4 separate regions of the Homo sapiens genome follow, and regions 1, 2 and 4 are each linked to region 3. The links are contacts of gene promoters, found by promoter capture Hi-C in blood cells and fetal thymus (Javierre and others, 2016). All regions are on one chromosome and are shown on one strand. The core of a region is centred on a gene start or on the middle of the fragment in contact, and the rest is flanking DNA. Distances in the headings are between cores, read along the strand shown. Region 1 overlaps SLC39A11 (solute carrier family 39 member 11). Region 2 overlaps SLC39A11 (solute carrier family 39 member 11). Region 3 holds the start of SSTR2 (somatostatin receptor 2). Region 4 overlaps SLC39A11 (solute carrier family 39 member 11).

The links. The method cuts DNA at HindIII sites, captures the fragments that hold promoters and counts their contacts. A CHiCAGO score of 5 or more calls a contact.
Region 1: a contact is called between a fragment that was not itself captured here and the fragment with the promoter of SSTR2 in region 3, in 1 of 17 cell types (M1 macrophages). The highest score is 5.5, in M1 macrophages.
Region 2: a contact is called between a fragment that was not itself captured here and the fragment with the promoter of SSTR2 in region 3, in 2 of 17 cell types (M1 macrophages and M0 macrophages). The highest score is 6.6, in M1 macrophages.
Region 4: a fragment that was not itself captured here is called in contact with the fragment with the promoter of SSTR2 in region 3 in 1 of 17 cell types (M0 macrophages); the score reaches 5.0 in M0 macrophages.

What each region holds. Positions count from the first base shown.
Region 1 is chr17:72,852,011-72,858,673 of GRCh38, reverse strand. All of the region lies in intron 5 of SLC39A11 (solute carrier family 39 member 11), which reads left to right. Among named protein-coding and RNA genes, the nearest start is that of LINC00511, 210 kb to the right of the region's middle. The HindIII fragment of the contact is 7,198 bases long and covers 1-6,663 here.
Region 2 is chr17:72,871,778-72,878,163 of GRCh38, reverse strand. The region is part of intron 5 of SLC39A11 (solute carrier family 39 member 11); the gene reads left to right. Among named protein-coding and RNA genes, the nearest start is that of SLC39A11, 220 kb to the left of the region's middle. The HindIII fragment of the contact is 1,356 bases long and covers 2,800-4,155 here.
Region 3 is chr17:73,162,018-73,168,355 of GRCh38, reverse strand. It overlaps SSTR2 (somatostatin receptor 2), which reads right to left and starts at 3,346. Exons shown (of 2, transcript NM_001050.3): 1 at 3,068-3,346. It also overlaps the pseudogene POLR3KP2. RefSeq lists a silencer at 3,092-3,431 and an enhancer at 3,972-4,221. The HindIII fragment of the contact is 15,303 bases long and covers 1-6,338 here.
Region 4 is chr17:72,888,106-72,894,883 of GRCh38, reverse strand. All of the region lies in intron 5 of SLC39A11 (solute carrier family 39 member 11), which reads left to right. Among named protein-coding and RNA genes, the nearest start is that of SLC39A11, 200 kb to the left of the region's middle. The HindIII fragment of the contact is 353 bases long and covers 3,835-4,187 here.

The DNA of each region.
Region 1 (6,663 bases), core at 2,138-4,637, 310 kb after region 3:
GAATTACAAAACACTGCTCAAAGAAATCAGAGATGATACAAACAAATGGAAAAACATTCTATGCTTATGGAGATAGGAAGAATCGATAGTATTAAAATGCCTATACTGCCACAAAGCAATTTACAGATTCAATGCTATTCCTATCAAACTACCAATGACATTCTTCACAGACTAGAAAAAACTATTTTAAAATTCATGTGAAACCAAAAAGGAGGCCAAATAGCCAAAACAATCCTAAGCAAAAAGAACAAAGCTGAAGGCATCACATTTCCGAACTTCAAACTATACCATAGGACTACAGTAACCAAAACAGCATGGTACTGGTATAAAAACAGACACATAGACTAATGGAACAGAATAGAAAACCCATATATAAGGCTGAACATCTACAACCATCTGATCTTCGACAAAGCTGACAAAAATAAGCAATTGGGAAAGGACTTCCTATTCAATAAGTAGTGCTTAGATAACTGGCTAGCCATATATATAGAAATTAAACTGGATCCCTTCCTTACACCATATACAAAAATCAACTCAAGATGGATTCAAGACTTAAGTCTAAAACCCAAAACTATAAAAACCCTGGTAGACAACCTAGGAAATACCATTCTGGACATAGGAACAGGGAAAGATTTCATGGTAAAGATCCCAAAAGCAATTGCAACAAAAGTGAAAATTGACATATGGGATCTAATTAAACTTAAGAGCTTCTACACAGCAAAAGAAACTATCAACAGAGTAAACAGACAACCTACAGAATGGGAGAAAATTTTTGCAAACTATGCATCTGACAGATATAATATCCAGCATCTGTAAGGAGCTTAAACACATTACAGGAAAGAAACAACCCCATTAAAGAGTGAGCAGAGGACACGAACACTTTTCGAAAGAAGACATAGATGTGGCCAACAAGCATATGAAAAAAATCTCAACACCACTGATCATTAGAGAAATGCAAATCAAAACCACAATGAGATACCATCTCACACCAGTCAGAATGGCTATTATTAAAAAGTCAAAGAATAACAGATGCTGATGAGGTTGCAGAGAAAAGGAAATGTATACATTGTTGGTGGGAGTGTAAATTAGTTCAACCGTTGTTGAACTAAAGCACTGTGGCAGTTCCTCAAAGTGCTAAGAACAGAACTACTGTTCAACCCAGCAATCCCATTACTGGGTTTATACCCAAAGGAATAGAAAGCATTCCACCATAAAGACACATGCACATCAATGTTCATTGCAGCACTATTCACAATGGCAAGGACATGGAATCAACCTAAATGCCTATCAGTGACAGGTTGGATAAAGAAAATATGGTACATATATACCATGGAATACTATGCATCCATAAAAAAAATGAGATCATGTCTTTTTTGGGAACACAGATGGAGTTGGAGGCTATTATCCTTAGCAAACTAATGCAGGAACAGAAAACCAAATGCCAGTTGTTCTCACTTACAAGTGGAAGTTAAATGATGAGAACTTGTGGACACAGAGAAGGGAACAACAGACACTAGAGCCTGCTTGAGGGTGGAGGGTGGGAGGAGGGAGAGGATCAGAAAAAGTAACTATTGGGTACTAGGCTTAGTACCTAGGTGACAAAATAATTTGTACAACAAACCCCCGTGACATGAGTTTACCTGTATAACAAACCTGCACATGTAGCCCTGAACCTAAAGTGAAAGTTTTTTAAAAAAGAATGTGGTGGCTTACGCCTGTAATCCCAGCACTTTGGGAGGCCAAGGCAGGTGGATCACCTGAGGTCAGGAGTTCAAGACCAGCCTGGCCAACATGGTGAAACCCCATCTCTACTAAAAATACAAAAATTAGCCGGGTGGGGTGGTGCATGTCTGTAGTCCCAGCTACTCTGGAGGCCGAAGCAGGAGAACTGCTTGAACCTGGGAGGCGGGTGTTACAGTGAACCGAGATTGCGCCACTGCATTCCAGCCTGGGTGACAGAGCAAGAATCTATCTCAAAAAAGAAAAAAAAAAAGTTTTAATATTGAAAGAGACAATTGCCTGAGAAAATTAGCTTTCAGGATCATACTACATAGTTCCATAAGGAAAGCAGGTAATACTTTTTTTTAAAGCCCTATAATGTCTTGAGGAATCTCAAAAAGGAATTTTAAAATTTGAGGCTAAAACTCCAACTTGGCCAAGTGGATACGTCTGTCTGATGTATAATAATACCTGCTACTCCCAGCTAGGTCTCATTGACAAACCTAAGCGGATCACAGGAAAATTACCAGTGTCTGTAAATAATTAGCTAATCATATTACTGTTATTTAAAGAGGCCTCATTTGGGCAGCAGGCATCTTTCAAAAGAGGAAAGAAATATGCCTGAAATTGAAAAATGTTCCACCTCACTTGTAGTCAAAGAAATACCCATTAAGAGAAATGTCATTTGCCCCATAAATAAATATACTTATTTCAAGATGAGAAATACCAGGGCTAAGAAGCGGCATAATGAGAACTTGCAAACTCTGTTCATGGGTAAGTGACACAGCCTTCCTGGAAATTTATTAGGGAATTGTATCATGGCCCTTTGATCAACAGTTCAACTTCTGGGAACTTTGTCCAATTTCTGATTGTTTATATACATTAAAGGTTTTACAGTGATATTTATAAGAAAAAAAGTCTAGAAATAGCCAAAAGTTCCCATCATATGAGAATGTAAATAATAATTTGTGTTACCTGAAACTAGACTGATTCTTTGGGAAACAAGAAGGCAGGGACAATATAAGTTGATCCCCTTCTATTCTGCTTTTTTTTTTTTTGAGACGGATTCTCGCTTTGTCGCCCAGGCTGGAGTGCAGTGGCGCCATCTTGGCTCACTGCAAGCTCCGCCTCCCGGGTTCACGCCATTCTCCTGCCTCAGCCTCCCAAGTAGCTAGGACTACAGGTGCCCGCCACCACGCCTGGCTAATTTTTTGTATTTTTTAGTAGAGACGGGGTTTCACTGTGTTAGCCAGGATGGTCTCGATCTTCTGACCTTGTGATCTGCCCACCTCGGCCTCCCAAAGTGCTGTGATTACAGGCGTGAGCCACCGCACCCGGCCTCTATTCTGCTTTTGATTGGCCTTTGGTTTTGTTTGTGTATACATACTACTTAATGAATATATGTTGCTGGCCACTCTTCATTTTGTTTTGTAACAGGGGTTTAGAAAGAGTTTTTCCAGGGATTTGATGCTTTCTGCACTTAACAGATGACGATTTGCCATTTGTGCTAATCCAACCAAATCATCTCCAATAATACCATGGGAATGTTGTTAAAGCTCTCTTGGCTAGTGTTCTGTTAATTAGCATTGCCATATTCATCGGGGGCCTGCAATTCCATCATTGGGCCCATTAGATTTAGCCGGTTACACCATCTCAGGGACCACATACATTCTGTGTTGCTGGTGTGATTGGGCCCGTGGGCTATGAAAACGGAGGTTAACTTGGCATTTATCTAGCAAGATGTTCTCAGTCTGACGTTCTTGAATCCATAAGGACCCGACAATTATTTCAAAATGGTCTGTGTATTTTTTGCTGGATTGTAACTTTCGCCGTACTTTCAAAGGCGGTTGCTGATCCAAAATGGTTTGGGGCCATTCACTAGAGGACTTCAGAGACTTCCACTCTGCAGGGAGGAAGCCAGACCTTGAAGGGCAGGGGCTTACCTGGGCAGCAGGGTTTGCTGATGGCCCCTGGGCTTGTGCCCGCAAGACCCGTGTCTGCTTTTCTCCATCCTATGATGTTTTGTGGCCACAATCATGTCCTTTGTTTTGGGGAAGAGGAAATCAGGGAAGCGGATGCATCAGAAAAGATCACCTGGTGATTCCGTGGGAAAAGTGAGCCTGGGACTTTTCTGTCTGTTTTATTGTCGTCCTCACCCTTTCATGTAGCACTGTGGTTCTTTTCCAGGAAAGATGGAGTGGGAAGGATGAGAGGCTGAGCCCTGGCAGTGGGTCCTTTCTTTGTGTGAATTCTTAGATGCTCAATTATAAGTTAAAAAACAAAATTTTAATGATGGGCAACTTTTTTTTCCTAACAACAAAGAATCTTCATTCTCCTTCCCAAAAGAAGTATAAGCCTGTGTTGTGGGCTTAGCATGGGTAAATATTTTCTGCTTGCAATTACTTTATGCTTAGAAATAGTAGGTCTAATGGGTTAACACATACTACTATCATGAAATGTTTCAGGTTTGTCTGCAAGTAAGAATGATTATAGATACGAGATTTCTCCTGAGTCTTTCCCCACTCTGGTCACAGGCAATGAGAGCTCACCAGACTCTCCTTCTCACGGCAGCAACTGCTCCCACTACCTTTTTTGGCAAGCAATGAGCAGTTCAGCCTTTTCTCCACCCCCACCCCACCCCCCACTTCATCCCCAGTCAACCATGAGGCCCTAGTTAAAAGAGGGGCTCCTGGAGGCAAAGATGCTGAGTCGACTCCTGAGTCCACTGCAGACTGGCTGTGTGACCTGGGACCAGTTACTCTGCCTCTCTGTTCTTCAATTTACTCATTCGTTAAAGGGGATTAATCTCTACTTCATGGGGCTTTTGTAAGGATTGAGGACTCATTGAAGATAAGTTCCCAATATTACCTATTAACCAGTGTCTCTGATGTTGTTTTGCTTCTGAGTTTGACATTGACTATTTCATCCCTAAATGAAATAGTCCCCCCTCTACTCCTCCTTCCCAAACTCCACTTCAAAAGTGCCCAAACCTTTCCAATTTCAAGAAACCTCACGAGGTTCTTGTCACTCTGGCACACCCTCACATCCCACAAGGTGCTTGGCAATTGCCTCCGCTAACTGATCATCCTTTTCCCACGCACTAGCATTTTACTTGATGGGTGTGATGGTTGAACTAGCCTTACCAGGAGCGGCAAGAAGATTCATTGCTCACGACGCATCATACTCTGTAATGATTTATTTGGACTAATCTTCCTTGTTGCAGACTCATTAGTGGCTGTCACCAAATGGTGGCTTATTTAACTTTCACAAGGACGTGAGGCATTCACACCCTCCTGTTTCCTACTAGGGAAGGCACTGACGTCAGTTTTCACACATTGGAAGCCTGGGGCCAGGCGTGCATTTTTATTTTGGTGAAGAATTCTTTATGCTCCTTGATGTTCCTATAAAACACAAGCAGAACGCTAGAATTTGCTCGTGGTGCGTCCGAGGTCTGTTGCTCTCTGTGCGGTATCTGCAGGAGATTCAGAGTAGGATCCTTTTGTGACATTGGCAAAAACAAGCGCAACTGTCGGTGATTGTTAGAGTGTGTGTTTAGCCCCTTAGATTTGAGGGAATTTGTGTGTGTCTTCTCTGTCTGCCCTCTCTTAAATTATAAAATCCCCAAGGGGCAAGGTGCAGTGGCTCATACCTATAATCCTAGCACTTTTGGAGGCCAAGGCAGGTGGATCGCTTGAGTCCAGGAATTCAAGACCAGACTGGTCAATGCAGCAAAACCCTGTCTCTACTGAAAAAAAAAAAAAAAAATACAAAAGTTAGCTGGCCATGGTGGCGTGCACCTATAGTTCCAGCTACTTGGGAGGCCGAGGTGGGAGGATTGCTTGAGCCTGGGAGGTGGAGGCTGCAGTGAGCTGAGATTGTGCCACTGCACTCTAGCCTGGGCAACAGAGTGGGACCCTGCTTAATCAATCAATCAATCAATCAATCAAAAGTCTGCAAGAGAAGAGATTTTTCTTTTGGCCCCTATCAACTCTCACTGGAGAGCATCTAGTGCAGGCCTGTATGCTCAGACCAGGCACAGGAAATCAGGAATGTTTGCTGACTGATCTAGGAGAAAGCTGAGGACCCTCCACCATGACCCAGGTTAGTTCATGGACAGCTCTCAGGGACTGCTTTGCTTATGTCTTTAGCATTTGTGAGCTTGAAATCCCAGATGTTTAGTTCAGTTTCTCAACCAGCATCTGCAGCCTGAGTCATCTACATATTGTCTACTCAAAATGTATAAAACCCCTTCCCCCAATGTGTGCACAGAAGTGCACACATGTGCATACATACACGAAGGTGATCTAATATCTCAGGATGGTACTGAGTAGCAGTTGTATGCACCCACACGCACATACACATGCACACATGCACACACACACGTACATGCATACACATGGTGTGGATACCACACAATGAGTGTGGAGCTTCGCCTTGTGTAAATACTGTCTGGGAGGAGTTGCTATCCAATTGAGACAGCTGAATTCTCCACAGGCTGGTTATGTGAGTCAGGGCTACTGACCAGTGGAGGACTGGCATCCTTGCGTTGTGGAGGACCAAAGACCCCCCTTTTCCTAATGGAACTGAGATTCAGCTGTTAGTAAGAGAGAAATGATTGGGAGCTGGGGAGGAGTGAGTCTACCTGCCCTGTACTTTCTTACTTTTCAATCTGTACTTGTAGGATTTGAGCAAATAAATACAAAATGATTTTCTTTCTTTCTTTCTGTTTTTTTTTTTTTTTTTTTTTTTTGAGACGGAGTCTTGCTCTGTTGCCCAGGCTGGAGTGCAGCCGCGGGATCTCGGGTCACTGCAAGCTCCGCCTCCTGGGTTCAAGCCATTCTCCTGCCTCACTCAGCCTCCCGAATAGCTGGGACTACAGGCGCCTGCCACCACGCCCAGTTAATTTTTGTATTTTTAGTAGAGATAGGGTTTCACCGTGTTAGC
Region 2 (6,386 bases), core at 2,228-4,727, 290 kb after region 3:
CATAAAAAATGATGAGTTCATGTCCTTTGTAGGGACATGGATGAAGCTGGAAACCATCATTCTCAGCAAACTATCGCAAGGACAAAAAACCAAACACCGCGTGTTCTCACTCATAGGCGGGAATTGAACAATGAGAACACATGGACCCAGGAAGGGGAACATCACGCACTGGGGCCTGTTGTGGGGTGGGGGGAGGGAGGAGGGATAGCATTAGGAGATATACTTAACGCTAAATGATGAGTTAATGCGTGCAGCACACCAACATGGCACATGTATACGTATGTAACAAACCTGCATGTTGTGCACATGTACCCTAAAACTTAAAGTATAATAATAATAATAATAATAAATAAAAATAAAAAAATAAAAATGAAGATGAAGGCCAGTGCCATCACGTGCTCTGGACCTGAGGCGCCAGAGTAAAGCACGCTGTCCCCGGTCTCTCCAAGTCTGTCGTGAGACCATGGACCATGTTCAGCCAGCTCCTAATAGGGACATCAGAATCAGGCAGCTAGAGAAAGCCCTTTCACTGGGAAAATTGCCTGCAATTTCTCTGTCTCTCCTAGCTTCAGATTTTTCTTCCACCTTGATTACCTCTCATGAGCAAATGGGGGGAAAAGTAATTGGTAGGTTTCAATCAAGCATCGTGAACTGATTGCGAAAGAAAGGTTGAGGCCATTTTCCCCGCTTTTTGCCCATTTTAACGTGGCACTGGCCAGAATGAAAAAATTGTGTTTGAGGTTCTAATTGCCCACCCTTCAAAGGAGTCAGGAAAATGGGCTGTAATATAAAGCCGCCAATAATTTTGCCTTGTGAATTACTATTCAGAGACCCAGTGTCATGAATGTTCTTGAAGCAAAGAGAGGTGAGAGAGAAAGGCAGTTAGATTGGAAAGACAGGAACATTTGATCACAAAGCCTTTTCTGGCATTTTCCCTCCAAAGCACACACCTAACACACACCATCATTTTTTATAACTTGAGGCTTACAATGATCTAAAGAAAAGGGAGTGTATGTGTGTGTGTTGGTGCCCTTCTTTATAGAGATGATGATTCTTTTGGCTCTTTTGATAAGATGATGCTTAATTAGATTTTATCTAACCCAGGTGGGACACTAACCTACATTATGCATTTTTTCTTAGCCTACCTTGTAGCCAAGGACCTGCATTTGCTGGGTGCCTGGCTAGGGCCTGGGAGCTTATTTTGTGGTTGTGGGCACAGGGAAATTGGAGTGGTTTCTGTAGGCTCTAAGTGTTACTGAAACCAGGGGTTTGGTCTAGGTCTTGTTGCTTGCTGCACAGAAAGCCAATCACTGAAACAGTGGGTACTGCCAGGAAAGGCCTTAATCAGGTGTTGCAGCTGAGGAGATAGGAGGTCAGTCTCAAATCCTTCTCTTCAACTGACTAAAATTAGGGGGTTTATATAGCAGGGAAGAAATGGAACCATGTGTGGGGAAACAGGAATTAGGGAGGAGTAGAGGAGTTGGTCAATAGGAAGCACATGATCAGTTAGGTGATCATGACAGGTGAGGGGTTTCATTGTCCAGATGCAGTGATTGGTAAGTTTCAGCTCCATGATACTATCTAGGCACTAGGTGGTTGGTTTTCTGAGAAAGGAACTCAGATAAGACGAATGTAACTTTCTCAAGTTTTAAGGCTGGGAGGGTCCATTTCTGTGTTTATTCAAAAGAAACCATAAATATCAGTTTCATGCAACAATTAGGCCTGTTTCATAAGTTCCTGTGATTGTGATCTTGCTAGCACTATGTTCTAACAAGCAGAGACAAACTTTTGGAACTTAACAACATGCTTCCTTGGCTTCTTTGTACTTGACTTTGGCTTTGGGGCCAGGGGATATGAAGCATTTGACCATTGCCCATTTCTCCCCTAAGTATTCTACAATAGCTCTTTATTTTTTATTTGACCACCATAATCCAATTTCTGTTTCCACCCATTGATCTTGATGGAGGCTTTTGGGCATGGCAGAGCATGGTTATGTCCCAAAATCACAAGAAGGAAACATTCCAGGTTTAACTTTGACACTCCCATGACTGGTCCCACAGAGCAGGGCTACCCTATAAGGCAGTGTGACAAGAGTAGCAGCTCAGGGCAGTTTTGCAGTTATATTTATAACCTACTTTTAATTACATTTAGATTAAGGGGCATTATATACAGAAAATCCTAGGAAAAGGGTGGCAGCTTTTGGGTCATTGGGTCATTGCCATGGAAAGGGGTGGTAGCTCCAGGATGTTGCCATGGCAGTGTTAAGCTGATATGGCACACTGGGTGGACATGTCTAATAGAAAGCTGCTTCCACCCTGCCCCTGTTTTAGCTAGTCCTCAGTTTGGTCCCGTGACTGAGCCTCGCCTTTGGAATCAAGTCCCACCTCCTTCCTCAGAAGGAGGGTCTGACACAGTAAGCATTGAAAGTGCTCTAAGGGAAAAGAAAGAAATAGATTAGAAAAGAAACAATGACTCCGAATTAGATCATCGTTAATAAGTAAATGCATGCGAACTGGGAAATCAACCAGAGCCACATGAATGTAGGATGACAGACACACGCATAAACATGCACAGCCATGGGTGCCTTTGTGGGAGATGAGGAAGGGAAGGGTGGACAGATTGTTGGAGCATTTGGCATCAGTGGGTTTGAATAGCTTTTCCATAAAACTCTGTCTCACTTTGCAAATTAGCTGGACAACCTCAGGGGGTTCCAGAATCCCGCTGGCTTCCTGGGAAGTCCTCAGGTAGGTAACAGCTGTGTTCAGAAAGGTGGCTGTCACCCTGGCCATTATGAAAGCTTCATCTTTCTCCATTGGCAGTTCTTGGGGACATGAAAAATGCTCCACTCTGCCTCGGTATAATTAAACTTTGGGCTGAAGTTTTACCCTTAGCCTTGCTGGCAAATTCAATAATGATGAATTAATTGGAATATTTACAGTGTTAATGTGAACAAGATTTAAAATAATATACACAGCTCACTTCCTTACATTTCTTGTGACTTCCTCCCCTTTGAAAATGTTATTTCTGCATCTAATTGCACCAGTTTTTTCTTCCCAAAATAACCCTGTCTCCTCTTTTTCTCTCTTTGCTGTGATTTACTCCCTGTGTTTCTCTCGTGCTGTGTTTGAGATATATTTGCCCATCTGAGTGTTTTTGGTTCTGGTCTCTCCCTCCTTTCCCCCAGTTTATTCAACCTGCAGCCACTGTAATATTCTTTAGCTTCATTTGGGGTACAAAATGTATTCCACTCAGTTTTCAGTGGGAAAGAACGAGGAATGACTGGGTCCCAAACTCTACAATCTTTGTCTTATTTCCTTTGTCCACAGTTGGGTTGGAGGCCCTGGCTGTGCTTTCTTCTTAGAGCGGGACAGGGGAATGGGCTTTTGCTGGCTATGGCCAATACAGACAAAACCCAACATTGCTACCACTTCCTCCTCTCCATCAAGGATACTTCTGCTCATTTTTCAGGGCTCGCTCTTTCCTCTCAGGGTGTTCCCTGATGATTTCTTTGGAAGCAAGGTTTTGAAGGTGACAGGAGACAGGAACCTGCATTTTCTTTCTGGACCGATAACTTCAGGCTCCTATACCAGGCTGTTCACCTGCAAAATGGGAGAAGATTATAGGACCTTGAATTACCAGCAGCGGGGTTTTCCCCTCCCTCCTGGTGTCAGCTTTGCTCAGCATCCCTGCGACAGCCTTGCAGATGGACGCCTCAGCTTCTTGTCCACAGAGCATCCATCCTAGCTGAGGATGGAGCTTTCCCACAAAATCATGAGAGGGAACTGCATGTCCGGGGTGGGAGAGAAGGAACAGAGACAGTTCTACATCGGGCAGGAAACCCAGAGTGGACTCTGGATTTTCTCTTTGCTTTGGAGCAAAAATCATTTATGCTCACCAGTCCCAGGTGATTACTTTCCCTTGGCAAACATTTAAGTGATCATTTCTTACCTTGTCTCCTATTATACTGTCAACCATTAAGACTTTATTGCAACTGTGGTTTTGTCTTCATCAAGGAAGGGTGCCTGTGGTTGGAAGGGAGTATATTAGTCGGTTCTCACGCTGATATTAAAGACATACCCAAGACTGGGTAGTTTATAAAGGAAAGAGGTTTAATGGCCTCACAGTTCAGCGTGCCTGGGGAGGCCTCAGGAAGCTTACAGTCATGGTGGAAGGCACCTCTTCACAGGCAGCACAAGAAAGAGTGAGAGCTGAGCAAGTGGGGGGAGCCCCTTATAAAACCATCAGATCTTGTGAGAAGGAATCACGAGAATAGCATGGGGGAAACTGCCCCCATGATTCAGTTATCTCCACCTGGTCCCACCCTTGACACATGGGGATTATTACAATTCAAAGTGAGATTTGTTGTGGGGGTGGGGACACAGAGCCAAACCGTTTCTGGGAGCGAAACCCAGTTCAGACCAGCTAAAGGAGGAAGGCAGAATATATTCCAAGGAAACAATCCAAGGGCAGTGTGCTAAGTTGAGTCTCATGGGGTGCTAGAGTCAGGGGGTGGGAAATTGAGGGCACGTGTTCACATATTCTCCTTTGCCTCCCACCAGGGTCTCTTTTTTCTGTTTTCCATCAGCTCTCTTCATTCTGCAAACCTGCTTTCTTAGTGCAGTTGACTGATGCCCAGAAAAGCCAAACACTTAATGGCAAGAGTTGCAGAAGAGAAAGAGTTTGATAATTATAGGGCCAGCCAAGTTGGAAGGATGGGAGATGTATCTCAAGTCCTCCTCCTCACATATTTGGAGGCTAGAGTTTTTCAAGGGTAGTTTAGCAGGCAGAGGGCTAGGAAATGGATAAGGTGATTAGTTGGCTCAGGGATGAAATCACAGAGGGTTGAAGCTATCTTCTTGTGCAGAATCAATTTCTGGGTAGAGGTCACAGGACCCAGCTGAGTCAGTTTCTTGGTATAGGTTTCCCATCCAGGTGGTGCCAGCCGGTCCATCAGAACGTGAGGTCTGAAAAACACCTCAAATACCAGTCTTAGGTTTTATAATAGCGATGTTAAGAATAGGAGCAACTGGGGAGGTTATAGATCTTGTAACCTCCAGCTATATGAGTCCTGAACCATAATTCTTTTTTTTTTTCTTTTTTTTTTTTTTTGAGATGGAGTCTTGCCCCTGTCGCCCAGGCTAGAGTGCAGTGGCGCGATCTCGGCTCACTGCAAGCTCCGCCTCCCGGGTTCACGCCATTCTCCTGACTCAGCCTCCGAGTAGCTGGGACTACAGGTGCCCGCCACCACGCCCGGCTAATTTTTTGTATTTTAGTAGAGACAGGGTTTCGCCATGTTAGCCAGGGTGGTCTCGATCTCCTGACCTTGTGATCCACCTGCCTCAGCCTCCCAAAGTGCTGGGATTACAGGCATGAGCCACTGCACCCGCCCCTGAACCATAATTCTAACCTGGTGGCCAATTGGTTAGTTTTACAAAGACAGTTTCAGTCCCCACAACGGAGGGGGTGGTTAGTTTTGGCAAGGGACTGTTATCATCTTTGTTTTAAAGTTACACTAGAAACTAACTTCCTCCTGTAGCTAGCTTGGCCTATGTCCAGGGATGACAGCTTATGAGGTTAGAAGCAAGATGGATCAGCTATGTAAGATTTCTATCACTGTCATAATTTTCGCAAAGGCAGTTTCATCAGCTTTTCGGTGCCATAGCCAGTTAGGAGCTACGCCACTGCCCCCACGTTGTTACATCCTTATTTCGAGAGACCAGTTGAGTCTGAGAATCTGGCAGAGTTGGGTGGGTTGTACCCGTCTGTCGAATCTGAGAATCTGGCAGAGTTGGGTGGTTTGTACCCATCTGGCCCTGATGACCTTCCAACGCCCCTGGGGATCAGAGTGGAGCTCAGCTGTATCCTAGGGTTTCCCATGTGTGAGGATGTGGATGCGCTGTGGGTGGCAAGCTAGGGACACACCCCAGAGGGTCTGTAAATCCAGGGATGTGGGTCTTGGCTTCCAACTCCCTCCACTCCTGGGACTTTGCTGGGTTGGAATCACCTGCCCTCCCCAGGCACTGGGACAGGAGCAGACACCATCATAGACATTACTCTCTTTACCTCTTGTATAGGAAAAATCATTGCCTTTATACTATCACTCAACACAGAACGTTTCTGTGACCAAATGTGTGCAGTGTTCCTACACCAAGCAATTCTCCAGTTTTGTAAGGACACCAGCTGAGTGTCCTACAATTGAATTCAATTCTGCCACTGTGTACCTGGAGACAGCAACAGGTCCCACAGATGAAGGGCTACATCCCACAAGATTGCCCCCACTTCAAACAACAATTACAGATCCAGGCTCTCACCCATCCAACTGGAGGGTAAATCAGAGGTCCCCACAACCCCCTCCTCAAGTTTGATCATTTGCTAGTATGGTTTAT
Region 3 (6,338 bases), core at 2,097-4,596:
TCCAGAGAATTTGCCTGCCATTTTCTAATTACGGACAAAAACGGGAAGCAGGTGTGGGACACAAGCTCTTTCACAGAAGTAAGCAGAAGGCTTCCAGTACTGATATAATTCATTCACACTCACGAGTCCCTTGATCTCCCCAACTGTCCTAGGTGGTAGGGATAATTACCCCCATTTTAGAGATGTGGAAACTGAGGCTTAAGAGAGTTTAAGGAGCTCACCCCATTCTCTTGCACATAATTGGTGGAGCTGGGATGTGAACACAGGCCACCTGGCCCCAAGTCTTTTGCACGTCTCAAGGCATCCCCTCTGCTCCTCAGTGGCCTAGAGACCGAACGGCTGATAACTGGGCTTTGGTTTGAAGCAACTGACTCCTGTGTTACTTCCTTGCTGAGAAAATAATTGGAGCACTATTGGCTTGGCTTAAGATCTAAAACAATAGTTCATCCCATAATTAAATGATTGATATACAGCCATTCAAAAAATATCACGGGGGTTGGGGGCCTGGAGAGGAGGCTTCTTTGTGCTGACAGCAGGGATGTAGAAATGAACAAACTTGGCCAGTGCCCTCTAGGAGGTGATAATTTAAAAGGGGAGATAGGAAAGGAAGCCAGCTCATATAGGGTGGGCATTGCACGAGAGATAAATGAAGGACTTAAGAATGCCTTCCTTTCCTGGGGGACTCAGAGGAGGCTTCCAAAGAGAAGTGTTTGAGCTGGGTCTTGGGTATATGAAGAGTGAAGCAGGAGGACAGCAAAGAGGCCAATCTAGGAAGAGGCGAGATGTTCAAAGGGTGGTGTGTTCAGCAGAGTGGGACTAATTCACTTGGCTGACACATTTCCCCTGAGCTAGGTCCTTTTCCTGGTGCCTGGGTGTAGATGGAAGATTACTTCTTAATCCTTGGAAAGACTGCAGATCAGTTAAAGGAGACTTGGCCAGCAACAAGTACTTGAGGATCCTTGCTCACCTTTGCTTCTGATTGATTCTGAACTGCCAGGTGCATTGCTCGTTCCTTCTGTGCTCATTTCCCTACCACACAACTGTCTGTGAAGTGAGATCTGGGCTTTGTGGCTGACCATTTTGTGAAGTATTTGAGGCACCTGGAATTTCATGTCTGCATTGCGTAAAAAAGCATAGACTGGCAGCAATTAAAACAGAAGCTGTACAGAAACTGTGGTTAGTATCCCTGGATTAACTTGGGTAGTTTCGTTATCACTTCTAACCATCTGGTCAGTTGGTTTAATTCTACAGAGCCAGAATCCTATTCAAGCTGCCTGCAATCAGAGTGTACCTTATCATGGGGATTTCCAGGGGCCCATCTATATAACATGAATGGTCACACTCCAATGTCTGAGTAACACGGAATCCCCCTGGGTTGGCAGAGCCCCTGTCTAAGAGCTTTTGGGCTAGGAACGATGATGGTGCAGGGAGTATGAGAGAGGGTTGAGTGTTGCTTTCCAGCCCTAACTCGGTCATTTTAACTGGAGTTTGAGTCAACAGGACAGAATTGCTTAATGGTAGCAACAGACAGGGTTCAGAGTCTTGGTGAAGGTGGTGGAGGTGGGAGGCTGGGGAGCCGGCTGAGAGTGGGAAGGCTCCTCTAAGCAAGAAATGAGCTTAAATCATGGGGAGTCTTATTTAACAAAGAAGTCAGCCGCTTAAGGTCTTCCAGAGACTTCTGTTTCATTTTTGTTTCAGAGAAAGAATATTCCAATGCCAGGCAGACAATTCTAGATGAATTGTGGTTAAATTAAATGTACAAGGAAGTTTCGTTTTCTGCATTCTTTGTTTTTCCAGCCCAAGAATTGTTAGATGCTGGAAATGGCTAGTGGTTGGTTTCCTCTGAACCATGTCCAGGCTCTGTAGAGAGGAGGGTGAGAATGGTCTCACGCACCTGCCCCCCCCGCCCCCCTTTTACATAGGGGCTGTGATTACCAGCCCAAGAAATGAGTGTTGGGATGGCGACCCGACATCAGGGGAGGTCCTAAATCCTACTCAGCTTCAGTTTCTCCTCTCCCCATCATGTTTCCCGCATTCACTTCCCACCCCCCGCCTCCCTCAGGGCCTGCAGAACCCGGCTTGGTCTCTGTGCGGCTAGAGCGAGAGCCCCCACTGGCAGGGTGACAAAAGCCCCTGAGGGCCACCGCGGCGCGTGAGCGCCTGGGAAAAGCCGGGGCGGTGCTGGCCTACGGGGTTGAGAAATGGAGGGGCGAGTGTCAGGACCGCGGAGCCGGTTGCTCCCGGCTGGCACAGAAAGTCCTCCTCCTGGCCATCCAACTCGCTGATCCTCAGAGCAAGGGTTTCCCAAAGAACTCTGTGCCATTTCCAGGAAGACGAGGCAAGAGCGGAGATTGTGGCGCCAGCACGCCCAGTATCGAAACGCACAGCAGGGGTGCCGGGTGTGGGGGGGGGGCGCTGAGGACAGAGACATCGGGGCGCAGAAGACAGTCGCTTGGGGGACTTGGCCAGCGGCTTTTGGGCACGGCCTATGCAGTGGTTTTTTCTCTCCAAACCTAGACAAACTGTCCTTTCTGTCCCGAGGTGGGGGACGGGGACGGATCCTAGATCGTTCAGCGTCTAGGGAGAGAAGCCCCTCTTTCTCCGCTCTGCGCCCGCCGCCTGCCTCTGGCAGGCTCGGATCTCCGGGTGCGCTCCCGCAGGAGCCCCAGCTGGCATCTCACGGCCTCGCTCCCCTCGCGCCAGGTCTCTTTTGTAGGGGGCTGGGAGAGAAGTTGTCACCCGTCGCAGCTACCTGAAATCTCGGGCTAAAGGGCACACGCCACGCACACGGGCATGAGGCTGCGAGGACACGTCCGTTCCAGCACACTCTACCCACAGCCCCCTTACTCAGGCAAGGGTACCCGTTGTCGTTCATTCCTACTACAATCACCCCAAAAGGCACAAGAGCGGAGAATCACGCACCGGGACCTAAGCTCAGGCACTCGGATGGGCACACCACCATCAGCGCAGATGCACACAGGTGCCCAAGTGCGCTTCTCGCTCCCTCCATCTCTCTTATCACACACACACACACACACACACACACACACACACACACACCCCTCACCTTTGCTTTTCCGCTGCAATCCGCTAGCTCCGGTCTCCGACACCCAGCGGCTGTCCCCGAGCCAGCTGGGCGCCGGGGCGCGCAGCAGCTTGGCTAGCGCCTGGCGCCGGACGTTTGGGGTTCCTGGCTCCTCGACCCTCTTGTGCCGGCTCCCGCTAGCCCCTCGCACGTAGAGAGCTCCCCTCGCCCGCAGACCCCCGGCGCCAAGCCTCAGACTGGGGCTCTGGGCGCTGGTGGTCTTGCGAGCGCGCGCGCATGGGTGGCTGCGCCGCTGGGACTGGCCCAGCCAGCCCGGGCCCCTCGGCACATTTCCCCACGCCCCCCTCCCGCTACGTCACAGCGGCTTCGCTCCGCCCCCCCAACCCCTCCTCCCGGGTCCTGCAGAAGGACAGGGGTGAGACCGGCTGAAACGCCTGCGGGTGGCCGCAGGCAGAGCTTACAGACAGCCGGGGAGCGGGGAGAGAGGGGACCCGCCTGCGGGGGCGTAAAAGGTTAAGCGTTTTCGGTCTCCTCAAGACTCATGGCAAGGACAAGCGCTATTTTCCCTCTGATTTCACAGAGTCGATTCCCTTCCACCCATATATTCTAGGCAGCTGGAGTGGCGGCCGGGGTGACCCAGACTTATACCGGGACCTCTGTGATTTCCTTAGCCAAACAAGTTAGCAAAGCTGTGTTTACCGTGGGCCAGCCCCGGGCGCAGGGCGCAGGGCCAGGCTAAGAGTAGGGAGAAAAAGGGCTCAGGGGATAGCGCTTCTCCATGCAGTTCCCAATGAGCGCAGGGAGTGTAAACCCGCACCTGGAGTCCAAGATTCAGTCCTAGGAGCCATCAGAGGGCCAGTGGACGTCGACTGGTCCCAGCTGTCCCTGCGTCCCACAGCTTGGAGGTGCAGCGGCCATACAGGTGGTCCCCTTGCTGTAGCCACGTCAGTCAGCACCTGCTGGTCTGACCCAGCACAGTCTCTCCTACATGCTGTGAGGGAGCAAAGGGGAGCAGGCAAGAAGTGGGAGTCGCATGGAGTTGCAGCTGTTTATTTTTGACTGTGATGATTCAGCCTCTTTTCCAATAGTTTAATAAGTCATAATCAATCCTGCAGCCTCCCCTTCCTCACCCTCCTCCAAGTACATAGGTATACACACACACACACACACACACACACACACACACCATCCTCAGTACAGTTTTAGAGGATGTGAAAACAGAAAGCAAACCCCAACTAGCTTTCTCTGTGAGCTGAGCTGCCTTGATTTGTCCATCCTATTATCTGATTTCCAATTCACCAGGGAAAAGTAAAAGTCCAGAAGCTGTGTGGCAGGTGGGGTGAGCCTTAGAGATAGATGAGTGACATGGAAAAGCAACCACCAGGTACAGCAGCAGCCAGCTCTCTCTTCTATCTGGGCCAAGCTGTATCTTGGGGTACCCACTGTGAGATGGGGATCAGGAGTTTCCATCTCTCTCTGAGACGTTGGTCATGATAGGGCTTAAATCTTGGCATCCTGGAGCTCAGGGTGAGATGGAAATTGAGCTGCAATTGCCTTAAGTTCCAGGAGTCAATCTGGGAGCCAGCATCTCTTTTAGACATGTGTATGCAAGTGGAAGGGCTGGGGTGGCTAGCTCACTGGAAGAGGGCTGTGTCTGCTCACCGTCAGTGGGAAGAGGGAGAGGCAGAGAGGTAATAGTAATATCAGGAGGGCATCGTGGAATTGTGCTCAGGGGAACTCGGCATCCTCTGGCCACACAGTTGCTACAATGCCTGTTGCCACCTCCAGTTTAAAACCAGTAATCTGACTGGTTTCCAGGAAAAGAAGGAAGAGCCAGGAAGTGCCCACTCTGCCCTCAAATTCCTTTCCTAAAAGTTCTCAAACTGTTAATACCAGATTTACGTTTCATTAAAAAAAATAATAACTGGAGCCAGCAGAGTCCGAGATGATGCTGCTGTTCTACCCTGGCTGCAGGGATGGGCTGATCGTGGAGGAGGGACAGCGCTGCCGCTGCCACTCCCTCGCCTGCAACACGTGCCTCTGTGTGCACTTCACCCACAAGGTAACAAATTGGAAGTACTCAAAGCTGAAAGAAGTGGATGATGGGCTTGGGGGAGCAGCTGCCTGGGAGGATGTTGACTCTACTGCAGAGCCATGTCCTCAATGAGAACCTCCTTGTGCTTACTACATGTAGCTTCAGACCCACTCTGCAGATGAGCCGAAGACCACCTTCTACCAGTGCTGCAGGACTCAGTGTGGACACCACTGGAGGGATTAGGGCAAGGACGGCCCAGGTGCCTGAGCGTCTGCTTACCTCCGGGTAGATGCTCAGCTGGGAATATGAATCGTGTGTCCTGAGGGTCTTTGCTGGTGTGGTGGAAAGCTAACCCTTTTAAGGTGAAGAGACAGGGTGTCAGGAAATGTGGCCTATCTGCCAGTCCGAATGGATGAAGTCATTGATGTCCAGGGAGTTTTTCTGTGTGGGGAGGGGACCCATAACTAAGTATGCTCTGTTTGAAGTCCTGTTCTTTCTTCCTTCCTTCCTTCCTTTCTTTCTTTCTTTCTTTCTTTCCTTCTTTCTTTCTTTCTTTTTTGAGACGGAGTCTCGCTCTGTCGCCCAGGCTGGAGTGCAGTGGCACGATCTTGGCTCACTGCAAGCCCCACCTCCCGGGTTCACACCGTTCTCCTGCCTCAGCCTCCCGAGTAGCTGGGGCTACAGGCACGTGCCACCGTGCCTGGCTAATTTTTTGTAGTTTTAGTAGAGATGCGGTTTCACTGTGTTACCCAGTATGATCTTGATCTCCTGACCTCGTGATTCACCCACCTCGGCCTCCCAAAGTGCTGGGATTACAGGTGTGAGCCACCGTGCCTGACCTCTTTTTTTTTTTTTTTTTTTTTTTTTTGAGATGGAGTTTCGCTCTTGTTGCCCAGGCTGGAGTGCAGTGGTGCGATCTTGGCCCACTGCAACCTCCACCTCCCAGGTTCAAGCGATTCTTGTACCTCAGCGTCCCGAGGAGCTGGGATTACAGGTGTGCGCCACCATGCCCTGCTAAGTTTTGTATTTTTAGTAGAGACGGGGTTTCACTATGTTGCCCAGGCTAGTCTCAAACTCCTGACCTCAAGTGATCCACCCGCCTCGGGCTCCCAAAGTGCTGGGATTACAGGCATGAGCCACCACGCCTGGCCTAATTTTTATTTTTTTTGAGACGGAGTCTCACTCTGTTGTCCAAGGTGGAGTGCAGTGGCGTGATGTCAGCTCACAGCAACCTCTGCCTCCCAGGCTCAAGTGATT
Region 4 (6,778 bases), core at 2,762-5,261, 270 kb after region 3:
CCATCCCTGGGTGCATCTTCTACAGCACCATCTCTCTAGGCCCACACTGAAATTGACCACTCCACTGGAGATGTTTCTCCCATTGCCTAGCAACCTCCCAGGTCTTATTCAATACTTAGATTAATTATTCCCCTCTCTGAAACGTTTCTGACTCATTCAGGTTGAGGTACTGGCTCCTTCTAGGTTCCCTCTAGAATTTTTTTTTTTTTTTTTTGAGACAGGGTCTTGCTCTGTTGCTCAGGCTGGAGAACAGTGGCATGATCTCAGCTCACTGCAACCTCTACCTCTTGTGTTCAATTGATTCTCCTGCCTCAGCCTCCCAAGTAGCTGGAAATACAGGTGCGTGCCACCACACCCGGCTAATTTTTTTTTTTTTTTTTTTTTAGTAGGGATGAGGTTTCACCATGTTAGCCAGGATGGTCTCCTGACCTCGTGATCTGCCCACCTCAGCCTCCCAAAGTGCTGCGATTACAGGCATGAGTCACCGTCCCTGGCCTTTTTTTTTTTTTTTTTTTTTTTTTTTGAGACAGAGTCTCACTCTGTTGCCAGGCTGGAGTGCAGTGATACCATACTGGTGTGCTGCAACCTCCGCTTCCTGGGCTCAAGTGATTCTCATGCCTCAGCCTCCAGAGTAGCTGGGATTACAGGCATGCGCCACCACGCACAGCTAATTTTTGTGTTTTTAGTAGAGATGGGGTTTCACCATGTTGGTCAGGCTGGTCTTGAACTCCTGGGCCCAAGTGATCCTTCCACTTCAGCCTCCCAAAGTGCTGGGATTACAGATGTGAGCCACCATGCCCAACCCCCTCTGTAATTTTCTATTTATCATGAGCATTGGTTATTTTGCATTGAACTTTATCAGTTTACATACTGATCACACTCACTGCTTGGTTCTAAAGGTTCAGACACTATACAGCACCTGTCTGTATATCCCTAGCACTTAGTACAAACAGGGCCTGGTATATAGCAGACATCGAGGAAATATCTAAAAGGAAAACAATATTTTTATTGGGGTGGTAAGTGCCTTAGTCACCTAGGAGAACTCACTAACTTTCTCTCCAACAATGGGACTTATCCAGCCTCCTTGGTGTCTTTAGCCCTCTTCTTCCTAGGACCCTATTAGAATAGTGACATTATCATGGTCAAGAACCAGATCTTCTTTTGAACTTATTCTAACCTTGATTTTTCTCATGTTGTGTGTTTTGGGTTTTGATAGCAAATTAAGGCCCTCCCTAACCCCCCATTTTTTTAACCCTAAATTTGGCCTGCAGACTCGGGAAGAGCATTGGTTTTCCAATGAGGATTCTCAGGTGATTTAGCAGGAATGAGACTTAAAGAACAAATTGTACAATATAGATAGCTAAGGAACTCACTGCTATATTGAGCTTCTGTGGTCCGTATCTATATATATATATTTTTTTTCCCTGAGACAGTCTTGCTGTGTCGCCCAGGCTGGAGTGCAGTGGCACGATCCTGGGTCACTGCAACCTCCACCCCCCATTTCAAGCAATTCTCCTGCCTCAGCCTCCCAAGTAGCTGGGATTATAGGCATGTGTCACCACGCCTGGCTAATTTTTGTATTTTTAGCAGAGACAGGGTTTCACCATGTTGGCCAGGCTGGTCTTGAACTCTTGACCTCGCAATCTGCCTGACTCAGCCTCCCAAAGTGCTGGGATTACAGGCGTGAATCACCGCCCCGGCCCCTGGTCCATATGTTTTCATTCAATAGTATTGGGCTTCATTTTCCTTTTTCTTTTCTTTTCTTTTTGGAGGGAAGTTGGTAGTGGGTATTGTTTAGTTAGAACTTAGTATAAATGATCCTTTTGACAAGGGAACAAAAGCCCTCATTCTGATTGGCACAGTATTTGAAATCAAAGTCATAGCTATCATTACGAAGACCTCATTTCCTGATGATTGATTTAACATAATTGCCTCTTGGAGAACCTACCCTGGAAAATACATGGATGCTGGCAATGAGTGACTAGCTACATTCGTTCCCTTCCCTCACTCCCTCCAGTTTGTCTTTTGGATCCAACAAGTCAGTTGGAGGAAGGAGTTATGCGGGAAATGGCTGTCAAATCTGAACAGTTTCTCACTGCACTCTTTCTAAAAAACTTCAGAAATTGTCTATTATCCAGTTTACTGGTTGGATTGTGGACCAATTGTTTCTGCGTTGTGTTATCTCACCTAGAATCAACAGAAATTGATAGCATCTTTTAGCCCTGGAACCAAGAGATTCAATTTTGTCTCCTGCTCATTTGGAAAAGACAGGCAAAAAATAACCCCAAATCAGTGGGGAAATAGACTCTTGAATTTGAAACGAACCATACAGTATTATTTAATCTATTTATCTTTATTCTTTTTCTACCCCAGAAAGATAATTATCTTTTTTTTCTAAGACTCTCAAGAGGAGATTCTGTGTTTCTCTTTGACATCTATTCTGGGCTCTAATAAGATTTTTTTTTTTTTTTTTTGAGATGGAGTCTCACTTTGTTGCCCAGGCTGGAGTGCAGTGGTGTGATCTCAGCTCACTGTATCCTCCACCTCCTGAGTTCAAGCAATTCTCCTACCTCAGCCTCTTGAATAGCTGGGATTACAGGTATGCGCCATCACACCTGACTAATTTTTTTTTACTTTTAGTAGAGACAGGGTTTCACCATGTTGGCCTGGCTGGTCTTAAACTCCTGACTTTAGGTGATCTGCCCACCTCGGCCTCCCAGATTACAGGTGTGAGCCACTGCGCCCAGCCTCTAATAACTTTTTATAATTAGACAAGAAATTATTAATGTTTTCCCTTATATTGCTAGGGAAGTTCATTTCATCCTGTGCAATCCTTGGGGAAAAAAAATAGTCTTATCTCTACCTTGGCTCTTCATAGTATTCATTCAGCACATCTTTATTGAGCACCTACTGTGTGCTGGACACTGTGCTAGGCCCTGAGGCTGCAGAAGTGCATAGCACAGAACAGTAATGCCCCAGGCTCATGAGTTAGTGGAGGAGAGTTTTTTAAATTTTAAAATAATAAAAATTATTTTACATTTTTAAAATAATTTTAAAATTATGTTTTAAATAATTTTATTTAAATATAAAATAGTAATAAATAGTAATAAAATCATTTCTATTGGCTTTATATTATATATGCACTTATATGTATGTATCTGTGTGTGTTAATATATATCTATATCTATATGTGTAATAATGCCAAGTAGGTTTAAAACCAAAGAGGGAAGTAAAAGCGAGGTAATGGCCGGAGAGAGAGTGACCAGGGAGTATTTTTGATAGGATGTTCAAAAAAGGCATTGAGCAGGGACCTGAATCATGAACTGAGGGGAGAGAGTGAGGATAGAACCTTCCAGACTGGGGAGCAGCAAGTGGGAGGCTATGAGGGTGGGAGATTGGAAAGGCAGCTGGGGAACAGGATGATCTGAGGAATTTTCTTCAGGTCCTTCCAAGTCTTTATTTTCTCTGTTTTTTTGAGAGGGTAGAGAAGGTTGGCAGGGGCGTCCAGGCAGGAGAGCAAGAGTCCAAATCACCTCCCGGGTTCAAGCGATTCTCGTGCCTCAGCCTCCTGAGGAGCTGGGATTACAGGCATGTGCCACCACGCCCAGCTAATTTTGTATTTTTAGTAGAGATGGGGTTTCACCATGTTGATCAGGCTGGTCTTGAACTCCTGACCTCGGGTGATCCACTCACCTTGGCCTCCCAAAGTGCTGGGATTACAGGTGTGAGCCCAGCCTCATATGTCTTTTATCTGGAAAAGTCTTCCCTCCGCCCTGCCACCCCCCACCCCCCAACCTGATATCCATTTTGTTTTCTTATGTTTTCAACAAAGCTTTGGAAAATACAGGTACGTGAGAGCTATTTGCATTTCTTCACTTTCCACCCCCTTGTGATCAGCGACCCACTAAACATCAAATCCAGTGGAAAATCATGACTCATGATTTTGCTGAAATTCTCAGTATATTTGCAGTGCTTAATCATTCTCATCCTTCCTTTCTGGTGACATCTTACCAGTCCCCCTTTGGGCTTCTCTTTCTTTGCCTATCCATTAAATTAGTTTTCTATCCCCCTACATTTCATCAGCAGTCCACTTTTTCCTGGCATTCTCTCCTGGAATCTCACCCAGACTCACAGTTCTACTTAGAATTTAGGGGCTCAGGCTCCCAAATTGATTCTCCAGCCAAGCTTTCTTTCCTAAATGTCAGAATGAAATCCCCCTGCTCTTGCCAGATAGCTTACTTATCTGTCCAACAGCCACTTGTATTCAATGGGTCTAAAATAGAATACATTACCTGATAGCTTTTTTCTCCCAGTTCAGCTTTCTCTGTCTCCTTTATTACTTATACCCAGAAGAGTTGAATGGAACCAAATCTACTCAGTCACTCAAGCCAGGAACCTCAGCATCATTTCTCTCTTTTCCTTTTCTCTAATCCCCCAAATCCACTTAGTTACCAAGCCCTGCTGATTTTGCTTCACAAATGTTTCTTGAATCCCTTCCTACTATGACTGGTCTAGTTGAATCCCTAGTTATAACTTGCTGGGACCATACCAACGGACTCTTTTTGCATTCCTCTGCCTCTGGTGGTTTTTTTTTTTTTTGTTGTTGTTGTTGTTTGTTTGAGATGGAGTCTCACTCTGTCACCCAAGCTGGAGTGCAGTGGCGCTATCTCGGCTCACTGTAACCTCTGCCTCCTGGGTTCAAGTGATACTCCTGTCTCAGCCTCCCAAGTAGCTGGGATTACAGGCACCTGCCACCATGCCCAGCTAATTTTTTTTTTGTATTTTTAGTGGAGACCAGGTTTCACCATGTTGGCCAGGCTGGTTTTGAACTCCTGATCTCAAGAGATCTGCCACCCTCGGCCTCCCAAAGTGCTGGGATTACAGGTGTGAGCCACCATGCCTGCCCTGCCTCTGGTTTTGTGCCATCTCTCACCCACCTAACTCTATGCATTTTCTTGCTTCCAGCCCTTCACTGGATCAGAGTCCATTGCTCCTTACACGATACTCAAGCCATGCTACTCAGTACAGCACGTGGCTTCCTAGTGCAAATCACTAATACTCCTATAGGATGAATACAAACAATGAAAAAACTATTGCCGTGCAAGTGAGTCTTTGTGGCTCAGGATAAAATTACTGGTGACAGTATCATGCAGATTATGCAACAGCCAAATCTTAATTTAGATGGAAGTAAAAATTATGTGCTGTTGAAAATTGATAAGTCAAGAAGCGTTTCTTGTGAATGCAACAACACTAGCATCAAAGAAGCAGAGATTGAATCAAATTGTTTTGTGAAATGTCAGAATGTATAAAAGCAGTATTTGTTATTTAACGTATTTTTTTTTTTTTTGAGATGGAGTCTCCCTCTGTCACCCAGGCTGGAGTGCAGTGGCACGATCTCAGCTCACTGCAACCTCCACCTCAGCTCACTGCAACCTCCACCTCCCAGGTTCAAGCAATTCTCCTACCTCAGCTTTCCAAGTAGCTGGGATTACAGGTGCCCGCCACCATGCCCAGCTGATTTTTGTATTTTTATTGGAGATGGGGTTTCACCATGTTGGCTAGGCTGGTCTCAAACTCCTGACCTCAGGTGATCCATCTGCCTTGGCCTCCCAAAGTGCTGGGATTACAGGCGTGAGCCACTGCATCTGGCCATGTAATATATTTTATATAATATTTTATTTTATTTTAAATACACATCTGTAACTAAATTAATGGTTTAAGTATGGCTAATAGATATTTGGTATCCATATCTGCATCTCTAAACGTTTATAAATTCACATTGATCGAACCTCCCTTTTAAAATGGGCAAATAGAGATTTGCCCTGTATTCAGAGTCAGAGTTTATTTGGGCAATAGTAGAATTTTGCTTGAGTCTGAGGCCTCTTTATGAACATGTTTGACCTCTGCACACCATGTCTCTGCAACTGTATCTAGTTACTCCTGTCTACACTTTCGTTTTTTCTTTTCTTTCTTTTTTTTTGAGAGACAGGGTCTTGCTATACCACACAGATTGGAGTGTAGGGCCACAATCATAGCTCACTGCAGTCTTGAACTCATGGGCTTAAGCAATCCTCTCTCCTCAGCCTCCCAAGTAGCTGAGACTACAGGTGCACGTTACCATGCCTGGCTAATTTTTTCATCTTTTATCGAGATGGAGTCTTGCTATGTTGCCCAGGCTGATCTTGAACTCCTGGCCTCAAGTGATCCTCCTTCCTCAGCCTCCCAAAGTGCTGCCATTACAGGTGTGAACCACAACACCTGGCCTCAACACTTATCTTGGATGAAATAAGCTTAGAGCTGATCGAGTAGGCAAAATGATGTTGTTGCATGGGACTCTGAAAAGATCATGCCTTCTAAAATGTTTAGAAGCGTCTCTATTTAGGTCAGGGAAGAGGTTCCAGAAGGCCTTTTGGGAGATAAATGCAGGCAACTGTTGACAATCAACCACTAACCCCATCTGTTGGGATCAGGTAGAGCCATGTGTTTAGGCTCTTTTGAGTGGCTTTGTTCAGATCTATGAAGGTTCCTGGATTGAAAATTAATACGTTGAAAGTTCTGTATGTTTGTTCTTTCCTTAGCACTGTGGCAAGATACCAAAGAAATAGAAGGCATATTTTACATCTTCAAGCTTCTTATAATTTATTCGAGCTTAAAATGTGGAACAAAATAAGTTTAGACTCAGGGTTTCATTTTGAGTATGAAGGTTCTCCACCTCATGCACAGTATGTTCGTCCTAATATCTGTGGAATAGTTATTCAGTACTGACTCATACGACTCT